Regions from separate parts of the Homo sapiens genome. Here region 2 is linked to region 1. Evidence: promoter capture Hi-C in human tissues and cell types (Jung and others, 2019). All regions are on one chromosome and are shown on one strand. Each heading gives the region's core, a stretch centred on a gene start or on the middle of the fragment in contact. The rest is flanking DNA. Distances are from core to core; before and after follow the strand shown. Region 1 holds the start of NFYA (nuclear transcription factor Y subunit alpha). Region 2 holds the start of MOCS1 (molybdenum cofactor synthesis 1).

Region 1 (7,420 bases), core at 1,054-3,553:
TTAAGCCTGGAATGTGGTCGGAGAAACTGTTGCAGAAGCTTTACATAGGATTCTAGTGCACATTTCTGGTTTAAAGTGGCCCGTAGAAAGTGATGGGAGGGGTCTGTAAGGAAGAAGAGGTTTCTAAATTCCTCTTTGAAGAGAAAGCAGAATATTGGTAAGTAAAGGATCTTGAATGCCAACCTATAGACTAAGCATCTCAGAGTTATTTCAAGTTTCAGAGAAGTACAGTAATATCGTCAAGAAAGTTTCATGATACAAGAGGAAGAGATTAAAAACCTTCACAGGAGTTGGGTTTTGATATGGTAAACGTCTAAACTAGAGGCCATTCTTGGGGAGGAAAATCTTAAAAACATTTGGTTCTTAGGAATCCCCTCTTTACACGCATATTTTATTAAAGTGTAACAGATTAAAAGGTGCTCTAGCCAGGGCAAACCAGGTAAGTGGTTTCCAAAACTCACGTTGATTTAAAAGTTCTTGCACCCCTCCAAATTTCTTCTTAAAGAGGACAGCTATCCCAGCGCCCATGCGACAATCCTCACTGATACAGTGGGCTAAAGAGTCTGTTTTCGGGCATGCAAAAAGGTCTCCTTTCACATAAGTGATCTAAAAAATGTGCAAAGGAAAAGACAATGTTTTATTAGATACAGTAAAATACTAAGCTATTTTTCTGTATTTTGTGTCCCCCACGACTACCTCTCCCGGCACCCCTTCCTCCAATCTGATTTAAAGCCAAACCAATTACAGCATGTGTAAAAGGAAAGTAATGGATGATCCCTGCCTAGAATTTTGAGCCTTTTTAAAGTAAATCAGCTAGAGAGAAAAAAAGATAATGCAATCATTAATTTAATTAAAAAGTGTTTATGCTTTTGACCTCCATTATTACGAATTTCAGTTCACCAATAAGTCAATAGTTGTTACGCACTCTGCTTCCTTCTGGATCTTCATTAAGGCTGCTGGCCATGATACTGAGTCGCTATTTCCAGAATTTAAGTGTTTCTTCAGCTATGAGAAGGGAAAAGGAAGTAAAAATGCTTAGGCAGCCTTAGTATATAATATTCTGATTGCCCTGTACAACCACTTAATAGGCTTTTTTCCCCAACGTTTATCGATGAATGTGAGTTTGTTCGGCCCCTGGGACGTAATACAAAACCCTTCTGGGGCAAAGAGGAAGAACGCTTAGGTTCGGAGGCTGTCTCGACCCGCTCTCATTTCGTGCTTTCCTGGAGCGCCCCGCTCCGTCAGCGGAAGCAAAGCCCATCCCTAAGACACGCCTCCTCCTTTCTCCAGGGCCACTCCGGAGCAAGGCCGATTTAGGACGGTCTCCTTTTCTCTGCACGACGCAAAAGTATTTCCCCAGTGGGTCTGGCTTAGAAGAAAACAGAAGGGACTTGGCCACAGTCCCGTTAAGCCGCAACCACAGAGTGTACAGGGTACTGGCGTGCTGAGCCCCAGGCGTGGGGAAAGGAAGGCGGCCTCTCAAGGAACGTTCACCCCCCACTTTTTTGGGGGGTGCGTGGGAGAAGGAAAGAGTCTATTGAAGCCTCCCATTCTCTGTCTCCTACCCTAGGGCGGGTCAGCGAGGACGCAGTCTGTCCTGGGGTCCTATGGGAGGGTGCGGGGAGGCTCGCTCAAAGCCCCAACGTACCCAAGTCACCCTTCACCTGGAAAGGAGTCGGTTGTTTGGAGGTCCCCGCCCCGCGGGGAAGGGCTCCGGATCCGACCCTGGTAGGTGGGGAGCAGCGGACCAGCCCAAACGCGGAGCCAATCCCGCCAAAGCCCTTAATTGCACGCATCTAAGATGGCCGCCCCCGCCCGGTAGCGGGGCGGAAACGAGCCCCTCTAGCTTGCTAGCCGAGCCCACACTCTTTGGCGAAGGCCGCCGAACTTCCGGCAGTAAATTCCGTGGTTTCCCGCCGCCGCCCGCGCATGCGTAACGAAACTGCCCCACGAGTCGGGAAAAGTGGCGCTTGCGCATTAGCCGCAGGGGTGTGTCCTAGTGGCCACTTGGAAAGGGGTGGGCAGCTGGCAAAGGGGCTAGTTAGCGCCTGCGTAGTACTAAGCTCAAGGCAGCGTTTTGAGTTGAAGGGTCTGGCGCGTCTGGAAAGCGCCTGCGTATTCCTTTCACTGGGGGTGGTGTCAAAGCGGGAAGGTGGGCGTGGCTTCAGGGAACGCCTGCGCGTTGCTCCTCCGAAGGGGTGGGGCGATCCCTGAACTGGAGTTAGTGGGCGTGGCCTCAGAGGCGCCTGCGCGGAGGCGGTTGGAGGGAGGCCCGATTCCCCTTTGTTCGGGTTCGCCATTTTGCTAGGCAGCGGCAGTGGCGGCGGCAGCGGCGGCTGGAGCCTCTGATTGGGTTTCGGAGTCCGGTACTGGAGCCAATCAGCGCGGGCAGCGAACCGGGGGAGCGAGGCACGGTGAGTGTGAGGAGCCAATATCCAGCGGCCCAGAGCCGGCCCCAGCGCCCCGATTGGCGGGTCTCGCTGACCACTCAGGAGAGGCCCAGGCGCCCGTCGAGCCCGGGGAGTCGAGCTGAGCCTAGCCGAGCCGGGCGGCCAGCGGCCCCGGCCCGGGGCCTGCGAGCGCCTCGGGGCACTCCCGGCCGAGGCCTGCAGGGGCCGCCCCGCGCGGGGATGGCGCCTCGGGGAGCAGGCACCTCGGGGCTCCGACCCTCGCAGGGTGCCAGGGCCAGTTGGGAATGCGTCCCTGTTCCCCGACTCAGGCCCAGGTTCTCAGGCCCCAGGCCTGGGGCCACGAATGGCCCTACACTAGGGGACACATGCGCGCCCTGGGCCTCGGCGATTTCCTCCTGGTCGTTCTGGCCGCAAACTTAAACCTGCCCTTGCACTCTCCACTCTCCGGCCCTTGGGACAGGAAGCCTCCCCGGGGCCCGCGCCCCCCGCTCCCCGCTCCCAGCGAGCCGGGTCTGTCTTATCTGCAGCCCCTCTAGGTCGGGAGGGAGGCCTGGGGAGGGTGCGCGCCGCGGCCGCGGGGTCCCGTGTGCGGCTGGCAACGGGGCTGGCCCGCCCACGCCTCGGAGCCCTATGGGCCCGCCCCCGCTGTCTCCCTGGTGGGGAGAGGGGGCCGTTAGTTCGCCCACTCCCCCTGCTCCGCCGCGCCCCTCCTCCCAGCCCGCTCCGCCCGGGTCTCCGGCCCGGCGCCGTTACCACCCCTTTTGGCTCGTCATTTCCTCTCTTCCCCGCCCCGTTCGCAGTGGCAGGACCGCACACCTCCGTCTTGGAGCCCAACCAAGCGGTCTCCGTTTCTTGTCCGGGCTGTAAGACCAGTCCATTCGGTGCCTGGAACCTCACTCTTAGAAGATTGATACCCTTGCGCATTCTTTCCGGAGGCTGCACAACTTGCTGTTCATATTACTAATCTTATCCACTGCTCATTTTGTGAAATCTCCCTCCCTTGGGAATATAGTACAGTTTTGGGGGTTTTTTTTCCCTTTGTTTTTGCCTTCGCCTTTCTATGTTACTTTGTGTCAGGCTTGACCCAGTCCACTCATCTCTTGGTTTATGTTTTTCTGATACACTTTCAAGTCCTGTGTTAACGTTTTCTCAGCAGATGTTTAGAAACTAACAGTGTTGTGGGGTTTTCCTTAGGGTGAGAGGTTGCTGTTGGCAACCAATTATCCAGCAGTTAGTATATGCCAGGTATAATCCGTGTGTTAGGGAGGGAGTACGTAGAGGTCAATAAGAACTGTGCCTACCTGATGGAAATTGACAGGTGAACAGGTAGTTAATACCTAACGGTTAGTGCTATAAAGGGGCCAAGTTCAGTTGCTGTGAAGTATCCATGCGTGAGCTAGCCTCCGTGAAAGGCTTATCACCACCGCACTTTTGACTGGCCTTGAAGAATGATGGTAATTCTTCCACAGGAAAGATGGAAGAGCTTGCTCGAAGAGAAGAAAAGCATGTGCAGAGGAATCAAATTACACTGTTGGAGGCAGGAAGATGGGATAGGGAAGTGGGCAGTAGTTGTGATAGTTTAGGGGGGAAAGCCCAGTTGGTAAAATACTTGTATATCTTGCTAAGGAATATTTTGGAAACAGTTATTATTTTGTATGGAGGTTCAAGTAGAAGGGATCTAGAGCTATATTTTTTCCTAAGATTGAAAAAACGAGTTTCTGACTTGTTTATGGGTTCTGCCCCGTGATAGTGGCTGAGTTCTTTGGGGATGAAGAGGAGACTTGTCCTAGGACTCTGAAAATTATTTTTACTCATGTGAATCATCTAGTGCATTCCCTGGCACATAAAGGTCTTAAGTATCTGGTGCCCATTTCTAAATTCACATTTAATGTTATACAACTAATAGGTTTCAGAAAACTCGTATTCCAGTGCTCTTTCATTACTAAAACTTCGGGGACAGGTTTTATTTTCACTTTTTAGGGTGAGTTTTTCATTGTTGCTTAAGTGATTTTCTTAATTCATTTGATTGTCACGTTATCCGCATTAGCAGATGAGATGATAGAGCTTAAGTAGTCTAAAAAACATGTATATTTGCCTTTGGAACGTTTTTTTGTTTGTTTTTGGATACAGGGCTTTCCTCTGTCATCCAGGCTGGAGTACAGTGGCGCAATCGTAGCTCACTAACCTGGAACTCCTGGGCTCAAGCCATCCTCCCTTCTTGTTCTCCCAAAACGTTGGGATTACAGGCATGAGCCACTGCGTCCTGACCTGAAATAGATGTTTTAACCTTAGTATTTAAAAATAGGTATGTTCTGGTCACTTCAAAATCACTAAATACTTTTGCTTGGCATCTTTCTAAAAGGCATTATAATCTGGTAACTTTTTTGCTAAATACCTTACAAGCTTCCACCAGTCTGCAGAAGAATTTCTTTGTCTGACATTTTGAGAGAAAGTAGTGTGGCCCCAAGCTTTTTTTCCTGTTTAGTCCACTGTTCACATGCTGAAATATTTCTGTTCTTGTTTTTATGCTCTCTTGATTTGTAGTACTTCACCTTCCTCCACATCATCACATAGCTAAATCTTTCTCACACTTAAGACCAGTTCATCCTGCAGGCCTCTGATAGCAAAGAAAAAAAAAGTTCAAGTAGTACCTTTTTTTTTTTAAGCCTTGTTGATTTATCCCCAGCTGGAACAAATCTCTGTCCTCCAAATTCCCATATCACTTTATCTCTTAGGATTCCAGTATAGGTTTTTAGTCCATTACTAAACTTAAAGACTCTTTGAAGTTTGAATCTTCGTCAGAGATTTCTTTTTATTTTTAAAACCTTCAGAACAGTGTCTGGCACATGGTACATAATTAGTGGAGAGAAGTGCATTAGAAAGCTCCAATCCAGAAATCTGTAGGATGATGGGGAAGCTGGACAGCCCTTTGTTGTAGTCTAGTCTTTCATCAAGCGTCTATCAGGACCCACTTGTTGAGTTGTGAAAGAAATTGAGTGAGCCAATGCTGGGAATTTTTAAATAATAGAATAGAAAATATCTGCCAGGCATGATGATGGCTCACGACTGTAATCCCAGCACTTTGGGAAGCCGAAGTGGGAGAATCCTTTGAGCTCAGGAGTTTGAGACCAGCCTGGGTAGCATAGGGAGACCCCCTCTCTTAAAAGAAAAAAAAGAATAGAAAATACCAAAGTGCATCTTGTGTTGTATAAAGGTAAATGCTGTTTCATGAAACTTTCATTTCAGTTACATGCTTTATACATGTGTGCACTGAGTTGTGATAATGAAATGTGTTTCTTACTAAGGGTTGTGGTCAAAAAAGTTAAAAAGCTACTGTTCTAGGCTTTGCCTGGTAGTGATTATCAACTGTGATAATCCTATGGCTTTTCATATGCTTACACTAGTTGAGTTTCTGAAGAGGTTTTAGCTTTGGAGTTTGTGTAGGTCCACATAGAATGGGTTCCTAGTAAGTGGTTGGCTAAGTCTCAGCTTTTGCACCTTGGAATAGTGGGGCAAAGAGAATTGCACTGAGAAGAGAATGCACTAGGAAGAGAATTTTCATGCTAGCCAGAATAAACACTTATTATTTGTTTCTCTCTCTTTGAGGAAAAACCATTCAAAACTTTGTGTTAAGAGCAAGAGCTAGACAGACTAAATCTGGCTTAGTTTGTCATAATCTTGGGCAAAGAGGCACTTTGGGAAAGACTATCGAATTGTATTGCAGTCTTGCTAACTGAAGCTCACAGTAGTAGGAACATATGACTTTACTGAAGCCAGTTGCTTATAGCATTAACCATTAACAGTATCAATATCATGATACAGGCTAAATCACTCTGTCATTAATGTGAGAGAGAATTGCTGCTAGATTTGAAGCTGCTCTTCAAATCTTGATACTCTTCAAAGTATAAATTTAAATATTGCTAAATTGGTTCATTTGTATTACCAGAATAAACTAGTTAAGAAGAAAATCTGTACGTTACATATATTAGTCATTATGTGCTTCAAGTTATATTTAGTCTTGTAAAGATGTAAACTTCTGGATATTAGTCAAGGAAAAAATCTCATATAAGAAGGAAATTTGGAGTTGGGGAGGCGTTGAAACCTAAAAGACATTCCTTTCATGATCCTTATTTTTTAAAATCAATTTATTGAGAGATACTTTAGAAACAAAGTATAATAATTTTAAATGTGTATTTTGATGAGTTTTGACAAATTTGTACACCTGTGCAACTGCTACCACAATGAAGATATAAAACATTTTCATCACCCTACAATGTTCCTAAGGCTCCATGCCAGTCAACCTCCCTCTTTCCTGTCTCCCTGTATTCTCCACTCCCAAGGAACCACTGATCCATTTTCTGTCTCTAGATTACTGATGTCTTTTGGAGATTTTATATAAATGGAATCATATATATTCGTTTACATCATAACCTTAATTTTATTAGTTTATAGCCATAAATGTATTGTGTATTAGAGACAAGATAGAATTTAGGGAAGCCTGTTAGTGCCCCTAACAGACTCACAGTCTGGCTGAAAACCTGATTTTCTATTCTATACCCAGAATCTCTGAGGAGCAGACTTAGTCAACCAATTCCAAAGAGACTGGTGTAAAAATCAGAAAACCGGTTTGTCATGTTGCTGATTATATTTGCTCCCTGTTGGCCAATCTATATGTAAATCCAAATTATAGCTAGAAATTTACCTAGCGAGCATTCCATTAGATCAAGGGCAGTGCTTTGGAGAACCATATGGCCACAAGTCCTCTTGCTGTGATGACATAGCCTGTTATTTATGGCTCATAGATTCTTATGTTGTATCCATTTTGGTTATGAGTAATGGGGTTGATTAATTTTTATTTTGATTAAATTTTGTTATATTTTTCCTAACATTCCAACATTCATTTGGGAAATAAGAATTTCTCAAAATTCTTATTCTAGAAATAAGAATTTTCAAGTGTGCAGTGAAATCAAAGGAATTTGAAAATAAACACCTGTATACCTGCCAGTTAG
Region 2 (7,420 bases), core at 1,428-3,927, 1.1 Mb before region 1:
TTGCCTAGACTCACCCTCCCTGCTTCCCCCGCCACAGGCAGCAGGCTTCATTGTTGCCCAACAAAGCCTGCATGGAGCCTCAGAGGGAGAAAGAGGGATACAGCACTCCCAGGCTAGGCTGAACCCTACAAAGATTGTCTGGGCCACCCCAGATGCAGGCTGGCAGGTTGCTGTGTCTCCCCCACCCACCTCCCCATTGACCCACACACTACTCCTTTCCATAGCTAGAAGCTACTCGACCTGTTCTTGGACTCAGCCCACAGCCCCCTTTCCGCAATCCTCACAGCCAGCTCCCACTTAACCTCACTTCTCTCCCTCACACCCTCATCCTGCCACACAAACAATGCCCAGTGGCTTTCCATCCTAGCTCTCCAAGCACCTCCCATCCCAAACCAGACTACCAGAGCCCTGTGTGGGCGTGTTGGGGGAGACAGACCCTGCAAGAAGGGGTTCAAGGTGTCCCCACCCCAACTGGCAAGCTCTGGAGATGAGCAGAACATATCCATTTCCAGACTCACCTCCCCTTAGAGTCTCCTCAAGACAAGTTTCTGTGCCCTCCCCCATCTTATGATGGGCTGGCCCAGTCCTCTCATTTTATAAACATGAAGCAAAGGGAAGTGACAGCCCCAGGAGCCAGGTGAAATTGGAGGCGAAACTGGCGGGTGAAAACATGGGACTCCCTGTCCAGTGTGGTCTACTATGCCACGTGACTCCTCACTAGTTAAGTTTCAAGCAGCTACAATTATTGGCTGAATCCACTGCCTGCACAACCCTGCGTTAAGCGCTTGTGGGGATAGAAAGGCGGAGGTGCACCCAGCCCTCAGGAACTCCCAGTCTGCTGAAGATAATCCTAATGAGATGTCCAGGATTCAATGTGAGTTGACAGAATAGCTATCCAACAAGTCCAGATGGGAGGGGACTCACAGGACAGAGCATGTGCCAGTGGCAGCATGGATAATAGTAATTACCACCAACATTTACATAACACAGCACTTACATGGGCTAAGCTTTGTTCTAAGTATATACGTTAACATACGTTAACTCTTTTAATCCCTGTGACATCCTATGAAGTAGACACTTTTATTCTTACTTTGCAGATGAGAAAACAGACACTGAGAGGTAAGGGGACTTGGTGAATCCCTAATAAGGGATGGGGCTGCCCCAGAGTCTATGTTCTCCTTTCTGCCACATTACCCCTCCCTTCACAGTGTAAAGGGATGGATAGGAGCAGGCTCTCTCCCTGGCCTCCACACAGGGAGGACGGAAAAGCATTAGAGTTGAGTTCCTGCCCTCTACAGCTCTGCGACTGGAGGAAAGTTAACTTAGATTAGCCCCCTCATCTGAACATACAAACTCTACTCACCTCACATGGCTTAGTGAGGACTAAATGCTTCCACATGTGAGTCACTCAACACAGGTTCTCTCATGAAAGACCAGTACAAAATAAACTAGGGGGTGGGGGGCTGGAGAAGAAAAGTCCCTTTTCTTGAATTCTTTAAAGATCTCTCAGCCATCTTTGCTTTCCTATCTCTTCCTCAATGATGTTCAGAGTTTGAGGATACTAAAAAGTCTTCACTTCCCAACCATGGGCCTGCTTATCTGAGGATCCCAGAGGGGCTTAGATTTGGGGAAAGCAAATTTGGCGGAAGTCATTGAGCAATATAGGGGAGGAGGGAGCAGTGATCTTATGAATCCCAGGACAGGAAGCCTAGTTCTGGGAGACGGGGAAAAAAACGCCTAGATAGGTACCGAAAAGAGGTTTCACTAAATGAAAAGAGGTACTTTTCCCCCCAAATTATTCCCTAACCACCTGAGCAGAAGAACAACCAAAACCTAAAACTTTTAATGACTTGAAACACTCTGAGGGGTGCTGGCAAGGACTGAGGGATCTTACCCAAAACCCTAAAGACAGAGGAATTAATTTCTCACCTGGAAGAAGCCACGTCCTGCCCTGTTCTGCTCTAGGATAAGGCTGAACCCTCCCAAGGTTAATAAAAAAGACAAGGAGAGTCAGCAAAGGATGGGTTACAGAGCCCTGGGACTACAGTAACAACTCATCGTTGGTGACACCGAGGTGACATGTTTAGTCAGTCGCACTATGAAGCAGGTGTCACAGGGACACCTGATCTCTCAGCTCTTGGGATAGGGAGGGAAAATGTTTAAGAAAGAGGGTGGGTGCAAGGCAAGGCTGAAAGGTACTAAGACACCTCACTGGACCCAAAGTCCCAGTCCTCTGCTTACCCGAATTTCTGGCCAAGCTCAGGGCTAGAAGGGGTGGCGTGGCTGGGGGGCAGGGAGGTTCTGAAGCGGGACTCCCAGGAACCTCTCCCGCTGGGCTAGCGGGTGAGACCGGGCGGTCCATCTGGAGAACATCGCTCCACTGAGGAGTGCCAACGGGTCCCTCCCAGAAGCGGTCAAGCAGATAGGCCGGGAGCTACTGGGGGAAAAGGGCAGTGTGCCGGGGCCACTCCTGCCCCGGGAAGCTGTGGACGCAGGCGGGGTGGGCTCACCTCCGAGGCAGCTCGCGCGGACTCCCCGGGGCAGGGCTGGGTCACCGGAGCCCCTGAGCTGCAGCTCCGGGCGCTGGACCTCAGAAGCCGCCGCAGCATCCGGGACAGTGGCCGCGCCGCCATGAAGCCTGATACGAGCGGAACCGCAGCCCGCTTCGGGAGCACACTGGCCGGGCACTCGCCCCCGGGGTCATCCCAGCAAGGGCGGGGAGGGGCAGGGGGAGGGCGGGACCCGCGCAGCCAATAGGCGAGGACGCAGTCCCGCGTGGCCTTGTGGGAGCTGTAGTACGCTCCCTGTGCCCACTTTCCTGGGCCGGGGTAGCGCTCTAGGGCAGAAGGGTAAACTCAGGTAAGGAACGGGGTTCTTTTCCTTCCAGTTTTTCTGGCTGCTCTAGTCTCAGATTTAGGTCGTGGTGTGACAGTAGGCAGGACAGGACAAGGGCCAAACGAATGAGGCACTGCCTTGGATGCAAAATTTAAGAGGGTGCCAGGTAAACTGCGGTTATCAAAGTAAGTAATTTTTTAATGTAATATTTCAAAAAATCGTAATAAATTTTCAGAAGTCCGTGAAATATCAACATTCTAAATAAAAAGATTTAGCCTACACTTGCATGACTCACATCACTCAGTGCACCATAGTGCAGATTGTGGTTGTAAAACGGTCAGTTAGGTCTTTCAAGATACACTTCTCCAGTTGTGCCCCAAAAGGATATTAACAATCTTTTTTTTTTTTTTTTTTTTCGTGGAGAAGGCAAGAGTATATGAGAAGTCACAGAATGAGTGGACAACATTTTTGAAATGCTTCTTATACACCAAGCACCATGCTAAATGTTATTTAAAACAATCCTGGTATGAATAGAATGTCCTTTTTGCAACTGAGGACATTGAGGCTTAGAGAGACCAGGTAATTTTCTCGAAGTCACACAGCTGATAGTGGGTTTCAAACCCAGGGCAATCTGCTTTCTACAGTCATTCAGTCAAGATTCAGTATGTGTTAGGAATGGTGGGGTGTGCCTCTTCCTCTCTATAAAAAGCAGAGTGCTGTAGTCCTTTAAGATTTTGGATAACACACACAATAATGAGCTTATGTACTAAGAATAATTATGCTCAAACCAGCCTGTTGTATCCAAAACCCTGTCCCTGTGGAATTGCAAGAATAAAACACCGGCTGGAACATACAGCTGCCAAGTGCATGCTTAGGAAGTGGGAATATAGCTCCTGATCTTGAAGAATTGACCGAATAGTGGGAGAGGAAAAAATAACTGAATATAACTGACTTTTACAAGTGCAGTGGGACTGTCAGAAAAGCTGAGATGATTTTAGCCTTAGATTCAATGTGAATTTCTCACAATGATACTCAAAATTCAGAAAATATATTGTAGGGGATGAAAGTGTATCTGGGGTGTGTTTGAAACTGATGAGACAAGTATGCCAGAGGTCTGTTTGCAAGGGGCCTGAAGACCAACTGAGGACTGTTCAAGCTCTGTCCACTGCTAAGTTTAGATATGTCTGGATTTATCAGGAAAACTGGGTATGGGGGAGAGAAGGATAAAAACTTTTTTTTTTTTTGTATGTATGAGGCTTGAAGAGCCTTCTAGAGAGGACTCAACCTCAGGGAAGAAGCCATCTGACATATGAACTTGATCCAAGAATGTCACCAGCTCCTTGGAGCCTCTCTAGATTCCACCCTCTTCATACAAGTTGTATGTGATCATCCCTTCACTTGGGCTTTACTGTCATCTTTTATAGAACTTGGGTCTCCAAGGCAAGACCTAAGGCTTACTCAGTTCTGTTTGAAGGCTGAAATCCTCTCCATATTATCATACATCTACTTGGACTCCTGTAGTGCTGGGAAACTTTCTGGCTTCCTGATGTTGTCTGGTCCACTTAAATGTTTCCCCACCTATTAAAGTTCTTACTTGTATTCAGCAAAAAAGTGCCCCTTTCTGTCAACATATGGTGATTAAGTGTCATCAGGGCCGAATCCTCTGCTAATGGCTGGGAATAAGGAAATACTTTCAAGGGCTCACAGCCTGCAGTAGGGCTCTGATGTGACAAGTCCATGGATTGATTTGGAGGGTTCTGTAGACCCCTGAACTTGAATGCATAATACTGTATTTTTTTTTCCTGGGGAATGGTGGCTTTTTGTCACATGCTCAAAGAGCCTCATGGAACATACTGTCCTAGAAATCTCTCTTTTGTGATACCCTCCTATTGGCCCTAGTTTTAGCCCCCTAGGCATATACATCCTCTCTTTGAGACTTTAACCCAAGTACTCTCTTAGTGATAAACAGCAGCAGTTATTGCCAACCCTTGTACACAATGTCTTGTGAGCCACTGCACTATCTTCTCTAATACAATTTGGTTTGCCTAGGTCCTGGTGGCAGACTGTATTTGCAAGATGGCTGCAACAATATTTCCTGTCTCGTATGTTCTAGAGCTGTGTTGTCCAATAGAAACTTCTGCAATAATGGAGATATTCCATGTCCTGACATAGCTATTGAACACATGAAATGTGGCTAGTGTGACTGAGAATTGAATTTCTAATTTTATTAAATTGTCATTAATTGAAGTGTAAACAGCCATGTGTGGCTACTGGCTACTGTATTATTCAGCCCTATGATAGAATTTTGCTTTCTCCAGAAGGGGTGGAATTAACTTTCCTTCCTTTGCATCTGGGTCAGTTTGTAACTTGTTTGTAACAGTGTGAAAGTGATACTGCATGGCTTTTGAGACTAGGTCAGAAAAATATGATGCAATTCCCACCTTACAATTTATCTCTAGTGATCTGTTCTCCAGCTGACAGGAAGATATGTTTCTCCTTATTCCCTACCCATTTTCTCCGCACTTGACTTTCATCTCCCAACTCCCCCTCAAAAAAAGATCCAGGATGTGATTTCCAGCCATATGTCCATTGTCTCTTCTAATAGGAACCTCAAGTGTCCAGTCATCTGAATATTCATTCAAACCTATCCCCATTCTATCAGTAACTGTGGACTCTCCTTGCAATTTTAAGCATTTTAATGAAGCAATAAAGTTTCAAAAAATATTGTATCAATTATTCCTATCATTTCTCTTTTGAGGACCTTGTTCAGGATAGTCTTTATTTGCCCCTCCAGATCCTTCTCCACCCTGCTCTGAGGACCAGGAGATTGACTTCTACCAACTGCATTGATGGCATCATCCAGGTGCCCTGACCTCTGGTTTCCAGGTGGATCTTGCCAATAGGGAGCATGGCAGGAGATCAGAGAGCAGGAGGAGAGAAAAGCTGGATTATCTATTCTTCCTGATCTCCCCTGTTTTGCTCTGGCTACAGCTGTAGTTGGTGTCATCTGGCCTCTCCGCCATGATTCCACCTCCCACTTAGTCCAGTAACACTATTTCTCACATTTGTTTCTTCACTTCAGACTGGGGTGGGATTGGCTTTCTTCTGCTGATTGTCCTTGGATGCCTCAGCATTCCTGTTGCCCCCCTCAGCCCGCCCACCTTAACCTTGCCCACACCTCCAAAATAGTCTCTCTTAATGGTAAAGAGCAGCAGTTACTTTTTTATTAAAACTTCATTAAAATATCCCTTCAAAACTTTTAGCTGAGTATGCCGTTTCTTGCTGGTTCCCTGATACAGGATTCGTGGACTCCTCCCTTCCATAGTACCCTTTGTTAATAGTGGCAATTACAACAGAGTGACATTGTTTATTTATATGCCTTCTGCACTATAAACCCTCTGAGGGCTGTTGCCAAATCTAAATCATCTGTAATCATACCACCTAGCATGGTATTTAATGCACAATAGGCTCACAATAAGTACATTAAATGGCAGATTCCATATCCTTGATTTGCCTGTAAGATGGCTGTTATGATTTGGATATGGTTTTTCTGTCTCCACCAAATCTCATGTTGAAATTTGATCCCCAGTGTGGCAGTGGTGGAAGGTGTGGGTCATGGGGGTAGATCCCTCATGAATGGCTTGGTGCTGTTCTCATGCTAGTGAGCAAGTTCCCAGGGGAAGGGATTAGTTCCCATGAAAGTGTGTTGTTATAAAGCCAGGACACTTGTCCAGTTTGGCCCTTTTGTACTGATGCTAGCTTCCCCTTTGATCTTCTCCACCATATCTTGACATAGCACAAAAGCTTTCACCAGAGGCTGAGCAGATGCTAATGTCATGCTTCTTGTAATGAGATAAATAAACCTCTTATCAATTGCCCAGCCCCAGGTATTCCTTCTATAGAAGTACAAAACAGACTAAGACAGCTGTGTCAGTCAGCCTGGGCTAGATTGTACTGTTGTAACAAATAACTCTAATATCTCAAAGGCTGAAAATCACAAGTGTTTATTCTCTCATTTGGGCTACATGTCCAGGAAAGGTGTATTTGTCTGCTTTACATTGCTGTAAAGGAATAATGGAGACTAGGTAATTTATAAAGAAAATAGGTTCATTTGGCTTATGGTTCTGTGGGTGTATAAGAAGCATGGTACCAGCGTCTGTTTCTGGTGAGGGCTTCAGGAAGCTTCCAATTATGGTAGAAGGCAGAGGGAAGCAGGCATGACATGGGGAGAGGAGGGAAGTCACATTAAACAACGAGCTCTTGCATAAGCTAATGCAGTAAAAACTCACTTGTCACCTAGGGGATAACACCAACCTATTCCTGAGGGATTTGTTCCCTTAGCCCAAACACCTCCCACCAGGCACCACCCTCCAACACTGGGGATCAAATTTCAACATGAGATCTGTAGAGGACAAACATCCAAACTATATCCAAGAGTTAGCTGTGAACTTTGTTTCTGGTCAGTGTTGCCCTCACTCTGGGTCCCGGCCTGATAGGGCAGCGAATATCCACATAGAACATTGGTGGTTACCAAGAGGGAAAAAGAGTGTGGCAAACAGCAAACTGGCTCTTACAGCTTCTTCCT

What was found. Contacts are between HindIII fragments. The study calls those that stand out against the background at their distance.
Region 2: a contact is called between the fragment with the promoter of MOCS1 here and the fragment with the promoter of NFYA in region 1, in 1 of the 25 tissues and cell types used here (hippocampus).

Annotation. Positions count from the first base shown.
Region 1 is chr6:41,070,671-41,078,090 of GRCh38, forward strand. NFYA (nuclear transcription factor Y subunit alpha) reads left to right here and starts at 2,304. Exons shown (of 10, transcript NM_002505.5): 1 at 2,304-2,414. OARD1 (O-acyl-ADP-ribose deacylase 1) reads right to left here and starts at 1,686. Exons shown (of 6, transcript NM_001329686.2): 1 at 1,566-1,686; 2 at 926-1,005; 3 at 462-606. The coding sequence starts at 964. RefSeq lists enhancers at 1,705-1,914, 1,945-1,994 and silencers at 2,375-3,004, 3,035-3,194. The HindIII fragment of the contact is 6,789 bases long and covers 1-6,444 here.
Region 2 is chr6:39,931,785-39,939,204 of GRCh38, forward strand. MOCS1 (molybdenum cofactor synthesis 1) reads right to left here and starts at 2,678. Exons shown (of 11, transcript NM_001358530.2): 1 at 2,511-2,678. The coding sequence starts at 2,633. It overlaps LOC102723789 (a long non-coding RNA gene), which reads left to right and starts at 2,785. Exons shown (of 6, transcript XR_001744112.1): 1 at 2,785-2,859. The HindIII fragment of the contact is 11,059 bases long and covers 1-6,828 here.